Linked DNA regions of Homo sapiens: all the other regions are linked to region 1. The links are contacts of gene promoters, found by promoter capture Hi-C in blood cells and fetal thymus (Javierre and others, 2016). All regions are on one chromosome and are shown on one strand. The core of a region is centred on a gene start or on the middle of the fragment in contact, and the rest is flanking DNA. Distances in the headings are between cores, read along the strand shown. Region 1 holds the start of ZC3H7B (zinc finger CCCH-type containing 7B). Region 2 overlaps SLC25A17 (solute carrier family 25 member 17). Region 3 holds the start of LOC124905157 (small nucleolar RNA U13).

Region 1 (2,677 bases), core at 78-2,577:
TTGAATGATGGACAGTCCTCTTCAAGAATATGTGTTCATTATTTCACCAGCAACCTGGGGTGGTGGAATCACCAGACCATTTGCCATCTAGTTCACTTGAGGCAAAATGCAGCAATCCAACTGGCCTCAGCATCCTCATCGATGAAATGAGAGTGATAATAACCATGGTGGTAAATGTGATAAGTTGTCAAGGGTGTTTCATTGTAAATTGCCTAGGGGGTATTGGGAACTCACACACACACACACACACACACACACACACACACACACACACACACACACATATATTTCTGGAGACAGTTTTGCTCTTGTTGCCCAGGCTGGAGTGCAATGGCATGATCTTGGCTCACTGCAACCTCCACCTCTGGGGTTCAAGTGATTCTCCTGCCTCAGCCTCCTGAGTAGCTGGGATTACAGGCACCCACCACCACGCCTGGCTAATTTTTGTATTTTTGTAGAGATGGGGTTTCACCACGTTGGCTAGTCTGGTCTTGAACTCCTGACCTCAGGTGATCCACCCGTCTTGGCCTCCCAAAGTGCTGAGATTACAGGCGTGAGCCACTGCACCCAGCCCTGATTGTCAATATCTAATCAGGTTCCTCATTTTCCACCATTCCCCAGGTGATGTCTGATCACCTTGCCCTGCCTTCAGCAAGAATCTTGTTAGATGGGTTTAAGCGAGAATCCTCTCATCTCTGATGCAGTTTCCTATGCACTGGCGCTCAATCAGTGGATCCTTTCTCCTTCCTCATAAATTCCCAGTTGCCCATGCTGATTTCTGAATTGAGCCCAAATACTCTCCCTGACCGCAAAACCCACTGCAGTGGTCCCTACACCCATCATGATGCCAATAAAGTCGGCCTTGTAGTCTTTAACAAGTGTCATTCAATATTTTTTTTAACATCCTATACATAAAACTCCAGCCAAGTGAGGTCCTGATTCTTCTATGTGTCTCCGGTTCCCATCTATGAGAAGGGCACAACGCAACCAGGGTTTTGGGCAGCCTTCCATGAAAGCACCTGGAAGCCGGAGAAGGGGGGCGGGGGGACTTTTGACACAGATGGGGAAGGGCGGAGGCGCTGGGTTTGAGCAGCATCAGCCCAGAAATGCAGAACTGCCAAAAGAAACCCCCCTAAAAGGCAGGACACTTTTAAAGAAAATAAAGGTGAATTCCAGGCATGAGCTTTCGACGGGGAATGGGGCTTCCCCGACTCGCCCCCACGCCCCCCGCCCTTCTCCCCAGGTGCGCAGCCCGCGCCGCCCACCCCGGGCGCGGCGAGGCGACGGGAGCCGAGCTCTCTAGGACCCGAGGAGGAAGAGCTGCAGGGAGACAGTGCCTCCAGCGGGTGCTGCCGCGAGCGGCCAGCCGAGGGGCTGGAAATGAAAGTAAAGCGCTCCAGAGCCACATGGACGGAGCTGCCGGGGCGGCGGCGCCGGGAGCAGGATGCGGCCGCCCGTAATTAAATAGCATTTACTCTTATTATTACTAATAATAATAACGTAATCATACCTCTAGTCATAGCATACCATTTATCGGGCTCGGCGCAGGCCCGCGGGGAGCGCAGCCCGGCGGAGGTGAGTGCTTGGCGCGGCCCGAGCCCCGCGGGGCAGAGGCCGGGGACACTGCGTCCGGAGCCGCCCGCGCGCGAGGGTTCGGGGACGCCCGGGCCGGGCAGGGCTGGGGAAGAGGCGAAGAGAGCCCTTTCCAGGCCGGGGCCGCGCGCCGGGCCACCTGGAAAGTGGGATTTTGCAAAAAATAAATCGTCTCTAAAACCCCATTTGCTCCTTTTTGGGGATCCCGGTCCCCGTGCCCTGCCCCAAAGTTTAAAAGTTACCGTGTGGCCGGGGGCACCTGGCGCTGGGGAGACTTGGCCGCCCCTGCAGCCCCCAGGAGGTGTCTTGAAATTTTCGTGGGGCCTCTCTCTTCGGCGTCCGGAGCTTCTGGGGTGTCCAGATGCTTTGCCGACCCCGCGCAGGGGGTCTCGGGGGCTGGCAGGGGCGTCGCTGGCAGGGCCCCCCTTCCTTTTGTGTTGTCCTTGGCCCCGCAGCACCCGGAGTTGGAGGGGCCGCGGCGAGGGCCGGGGAGCGGGGCCGCCCGACGGGCCGCCCCTTTCGGCTGCGGCGGCCACGCGAGCCCGGGGATCCGGGGCCTGCAGCCGGGCCCGCGGGAAGGGGGCGGCAGGAAAGGGGGGCGCGGTCTGGGCCTGCTGGGCAGGGGGGCGTTTCCGGTCGCAGGATCAGTCTCTGGACTTCGAGGCCTGTGGGAGGCCCGCGGCCGTCCAGGGAGTGCTAGGGGGCTGCGGACCCCGGCTCTGGCGCCTGGGGACGGGGGCGCCCTGACGGGGCTGGGGGCCTGGGAGCCGCCGACTCCGGCCTCATACCCCCATCCTGCCCGCTGCGAACCTCAGGGCCCCCCTCCGGGTTTGCTCCCTCCTCCTTTCCCCTCCTTTCTCCTCAACTCTGTCTGTTTTAGGCGTTTATAAGGCGCCTGGTTGGGGGGACTTTCACAGACAAAGCCGTCTTCCCAGGGGGGAAAATAATCATATAAAAACAGCTCACTCTGATAGAACCTGATGGCTGTATTGCCAACAGGGCATTGACGGGGAAGACTAGGGGGCTAGGGCCCTGCGTGGGGAGTCTGGGGGCTCTAAAAGGGGGCTGGGCCTGAGTGGGGAGC
Region 2 (2,677 bases), core at 100-2,599, 490 kb before region 1:
AAGCACTTTGACAACAGGGACCAGATGTTTTTCCAGATAAAGACACAACCAAGCATGCTCTTCCACTATCAGTCCTTACCAGAAGACTCTGTGACCATAAAAAGAACAGGACTTAAAAAACTCAAAATGGTCTTAACAGACACTGTCTTGCTGTCACTTGTTATAAAAGCCTGATATCTGTGTCCAAAGGCTCTGCCCACATCAAGGATTCTTTCTTACAAGACCAACACACTGCCATGATGAAACCAGGATACTTGTCTATATCACTCTCCCCGGACTGGTTAGGTAACCCTTTTTCCTCACCCTTTTCTCTTGATGTTCAATGTTACTTTGTTGCAGAATGTTTAATCTACATCATTTATGTATTAATTAGGTATACTATTATATATGATTTACAATATTGACTGACTACCTAGTGAATGAGAAGTACTAATAAAAATTGCCTCCTTGAGAACTCCATGTAACTTGTCTTTTATAACTGAAATAACACAATAAAAGTCTGACATTGTGAAAAGACACAAATGTGTGTGTACCTGGTTATCCATGACCTTAAACCATTCACAATAGTAGATTAAGCTGTTAGGAAGTCAGAGTTGACCTTTGGAAGAACAGTTCCAGTGGTCAAAGTAGGATGAGGAAAGGCAGTACGTGCAGAATATATATATATATATATATATATATATATATATATTGTTGTTGTTGTTGTTGTTTTGTTTTGTTTTGGTTTTTTTTGTTTTTGAGACGGAGTCTTGCTCTGTCGTCCAGGCTGGAGTGCAGTGGCGCAATCTTGGCTCACTGCAAGCTCCACCTCCCGGGTTCATGCCGTTCTCCTGCCTCAGCCTCCCGAGTAGCTGGGACTACAGGCGCCTGCCTCCATGCCCGGCTAATATTTTGTATTTTTAGTAGAGATGGGGTTTCACCGTGTTAGTCAGGATGGTCTCGATCTCCTGACCTCGTGATCTGCCCGCCTCAGCCTCCCAAAGTGCTGGGATTACAGGTGTGAGCCACCACACCCGGCCCAGAATATTCTTTAAATAAGCTTAGCACAAAGGGAAAGAGAACAGGCAGAGGCTGAAGAAGCTACCAGATTCCAGATCAGATTGGTATAGTTTTCTGATGGGACAGACCTGACCATGTTTGAGGGCTGAACAGAAGCAGATACTAGGTTAAAGCTATAGGAAAGAGATGAAAATTACTGGAGCAAAGTCCTGGAAGAAAACTGGCCATGGGCTGGAGGGGAGGACAAAGATTGAAGGTAGCAGACACTGAATATGTCTATTTTTCCTCTGAGACCAGCAGAATGTAGAAAACACGAGTACAACTGTAATTGGAAAAAACTGAAAAAACTCATCCCAAGTAGGTTCTATTTTATCTAGAGAGTAAAAGGTAAGATCATCTGCAACAAGTGAAGGGAATGGGTGGAGATGGCCATGAGGCAAGAGAACATTTCAATTCCCTTAAATTTCTAAAACTAGGTATAAGTGCTGTATTTGCAAGAATATACTTGAGACAGAAATGAATAATTATGGTCTTACTACAACGTTCCATTATGCTAGATGCTCCACAAATATAATCACATTTACTTCCCACAAGAACCCAGTTAAGTGAGGCATTGTTATTGTCCCTGTTTTATAGTTCGATTGATGATGGCATTCATAGTTAAGCTTTACTACAGAACCTTTTTTTTCAGCTATTATGCCATATTTGCTTCTTAAAAAATTAAGTTATACAATACTATGTATGACGATATAATTTCATTAATCGTTTTTGATTCAGGCATAAACAAAGTTAGAAAAGTAATTCCAGGCCAGGCGCAGTGGCTCACGCCTGTAATCCCAGCACTTTGGGAGGCCAAGGCAGGCGGATCACCTGAGGGCGGGAGCTCAAGACCAGGCTGACCAACATGGAGAAACCCCGTCTCTACTGAAAATACAAAATTAGCCAGGCGTGGTGGCACATGCCTGTAAACCCAGCCACTCGGCGAGAGGCTGAGGCAGGAGAATCGCTTGAACCCAGGAGGCGGAGGTTGTGGTGGGCCGAGATTGCATCACTGCACTCCATGCACTCCAGCCTGGGCAACAAGAGCGAAACTCCATCTCAAAAAAAAAAAAAGAAAGAAAGAAAGAAAAAGAAAAAAAGAGAAAAATAGGCAACAAGTGAAAAAAAGAAGTATCTTTGTAGATTAAATAGAAATATATTACCACTATTGCCAGTCACTCTCTCTATAGCAGGAGTCAGAAAACTATGGCCTATGGGCCAAATCCAATCTAATATCTGTTTTTGAAAACAGTATTTTATTGGAACACAGCTCTGTCCATTCATTTACTGTCTACAGCTGATTTCACACGACCATGGCAATGTTGGGTAGCTGTGACAACGGTACACAAAGCCTAAAATATTTCCCATCTGCTCTCTTTAAAAAGTTTGCCAATCTCTATGTTCTTTTATAGCACTTAACTGTATCTAAAATTATTCTACTTATTTTTTATTTATTCATTTATTTTTTATTGTTTTTTTTTTTTTTTCTTGAGACGGAGTCTTGCTCTTGTCACCCAGGCTGGAGTGCAATGGCACAATTTTGGCTCACTGCAACCTCTGCCTCCCAGGTTCAAGTGATTCTCCTGCTTCAGCCTCCCGAGTAGCTGGGATTACAGGCGCCCACCACCATGCCTGGCTA
Region 3 (2,677 bases), core at 107-2,606, 390 kb before region 1:
CACATTGCCACCATGCCTGACTCACAGACATTTTTTAAAAAATAAAGTTGATTTTTTAAAATACAGAAGTAATATTCAGGTTATGGTAGAAAGCTTGATTGGATTAATCCTCCATAGATAATAATTATAAAATCTGGACAAAATATTAAAAATAACTATTTAAAGGCACTAGAGATCCCTTTGTAGCTCATGAGTGTGATGATTGGGTGTTCACGTGCAGGTATGAGATGTGCTACCCTCAAACCTTCTTACAAGGTCAGCACATTACCCATCTGACATGAAAAAAATCAAAATAAAAGGCACCAGAGAGCTTTCAAAAATAGGCAGAAATTGTACAAGTCCATTCTTTTTTTTTTTTTTTTTTTGAGACGGAGTCTCGCTCTGGCACCCAGGCTGGAGTGCAGTGGCATGATCTCGGCTCACTGCTAGCTCCACCTCCCAGGTTCACATCATTCTCCTGCTTCAGCCTCCCGAGTAGCGGGACTACAGGCACCCACCACCACGCCTGGCTAATTTTTTGTATTTTTCGTAGAGATGGGATTTCACCGTGTTAGCCAAGTACAAGTCCATTCTTAAAAAACTATAATGGGCCAGGCCTGGTGGCTCATACCTGTAATCCCAGGACTTTGGGAGCCCAAGGCAGGCAGAGCACCTGAGGTCAGGAGTTCAGGACCAGCCTGACCAAAATGGTGAAACCCTGTCTCTACTAAAAATACAAAAATTAGCCTGGGAATGGTACTCGGGAGGCTAAGGCAGGAGAATCGCTTGAACCCAGGGGACGGAAGTTGCAGTGAGCTAAGATTGGACTCTGCACTCCAGCCTGGGTGACAGAGTGAGACTCTATCTGAAAAAAAAAAAAAAGAAAAACTATAATGGATAAAAATGGTGATAAGGGCTTTTTGCCTGAGGACATTGCCCAATGCACATAGCTTGGGCGGCAGAAAGCCACAGCCTTATTGATTTAAGATATCAAATGATAGATTTAGGTGCTGACAGAATAGCCAGAAAGATGAAGGAAAATCCTTGACGAGAAGGGCTTGTGGAAACTCTGAGCCCCAAAATCTGCATACAGAATATTTAAAAATCCTTGGCTGATTACTGAACTATGTGTTCTGAGGAGGCCTCATGAGGCTCAGCAAAATACGAGCAGCTAGAAGCAGAATAAACTGAGCAGAGATTTTAGTTGCTTCCCAGTGAGAACAGAGTTTGTAGTTTGAAGCTATCCAAGTTAACAAAATTTCTAGACATGAGAAGAAACTGGTAATTGTGACCTGTAATCAAGAAAATCTGATAATGAAATAATCCTGGCCAGGTGCAGTGGCTCATGCCTGTAATTCTAGCACTTTGGGGGGCCGAGGTGGGCAGATTACTTGAAGTCAGGAGTTCAAGACCAGCCTGGCCAAAATGTGAAACCCTGTCTCTACTAAAAATACAAAAATTAGCTGAGTGTGGTGGCGGGCACCTGTAATCCCAGCTACTCGGGAGGCTGAGGCAGGAATATCGCTTGAACCGGGAAAGGGGAGGTTGCAGTGAGCCGAGATTGTACCACTGCACTCCAGCTTGGGCGACAGAGTGAGACTCCATCTCAAACAAAGGAAAAAAAAAAAGAAAGAAATGATCCTAATGTTCCAATTAGCAGAAAGACTCTAAAGTAGCTGTTATAGATAAGTTAAAGGAAGATGTAGACATAATGAGCAAACAGATGGAGAATCTCAATGAGAAATAGAAACAAAAAAGAACCAGAGATTGTGGGAAGATGGCAGCAGCAGGATAGTTTTTCAAACTTTCCAAATTGTCAAATAAACATAGAGCAACTAGCTAACAAAACCAAACACTAGGTAGTATTTGTTACCTCAAAATAATTACCTCCTAATTCACAAACATTCAGTCTGTAACTGCCCAAAATCTAGACTGATAAACTCTGTATGTCAAGCAGCCTGGATTCTTTAACAAATAAATTACAAGGAAATGAAAAGAGGTGGAGGAGGAGCCTACTAACTAAAAGAGATTTTAGTTATATCAAATATATTACAAATGAACACAAAGAAAATTATCTTGGGGTGAATATTTGGGTGATAAAAATATCTTTAAAACACAAAGGACAGCCAGGCGAGGTGCCTCATGTAATCCCAGCACACTGGGAGGAAAGACAGGAGGATCACTTGAGCTCAGGAGTTCAAGACCAACATGGGCAGCATAGTGAAACCTGGTCTTTACAAAAAAATTAGCCAGGCGTGGTGGCACATGCCTGTAGTCCCAGCTACTCAAGAGGCTGAGGTGGGAGAATTGCTTGAGCCCAGGAGACAGAGGTTGCAGTGAGCCAAGATTGCACCATTGCAATCCAGCCTGGGTGACAGAGCCAGACCCTGTCGCAAAAAAAAAGAAAAAGAAAAAAACCCCACAATGACCAAGCATAGTGGCATGCACCTATAGTCTCAGCTACTCAGGAGGCTGAGGCAGGAGGATCACTTGAGTCCAAGAGTTCTAAGCTGCAGTCCACTATGTTGATCAGGTGTCTGCAACCAGTTAGAGGTTTTTGCACATTACCTAAGGAGGGCTGAACTGGCCCAGGTCAGAAACAGAGCAGGTCACAACTCTCATACTGATCAGTAATGGGAACAAGCTTGTGAATAGCCAGTACACACCAGCCTGGGCAACAGAGCAAGACCCCATCTGT

What was found. Contacts are between HindIII fragments. The CHiCAGO score rates a contact against its expected background, and 5 or more counts as called.
Region 2: a contact is called between a fragment that was not itself captured here and the fragment with the promoter of ZC3H7B in region 1, in 1 of 17 cell types (total CD8 T cells). The highest score is 5.3, in total CD8 T cells.
Region 3: a fragment that was not itself captured here is called in contact with the fragment with the promoter of ZC3H7B in region 1 in 2 of 17 cell types (endothelial precursors and total CD4 T cells); the score reaches 5.6 in endothelial precursors.

What each region holds. Positions count from the first base shown.
Region 1 is chr22:41,300,198-41,302,874 of GRCh38, forward strand. ZC3H7B (zinc finger CCCH-type containing 7B) reads left to right here and starts at 1,328. Exons shown (of 23, transcript NM_017590.6): 1 at 1,328-1,575. It also overlaps a transcript of RANGAP1 not described here. RefSeq lists silencers at 1,015-1,354, 1,635-1,704 and an enhancer at 1,436-1,937. The HindIII fragment of the contact is 7,155 bases long and covers 1-2,677 here.
Region 2 is chr22:40,814,100-40,816,776 of GRCh38, forward strand. The region is part of intron 1 of SLC25A17 (solute carrier family 25 member 17); the gene reads right to left. Among named protein-coding and RNA genes, the nearest start is that of MIR4766, 1.5 kb to the left of the region's middle. The HindIII fragment of the contact is 625 bases long and covers 1,038-1,662 here.
Region 3 is chr22:40,914,705-40,917,381 of GRCh38, forward strand. All of the region lies in intron 7 of XPNPEP3 (X-prolyl aminopeptidase 3), which reads left to right. It overlaps LOC124905157 (small nucleolar RNA U13), which reads left to right and starts at 175; the gene lies at 175-278. The HindIII fragment of the contact is 2,530 bases long and covers 92-2,621 here.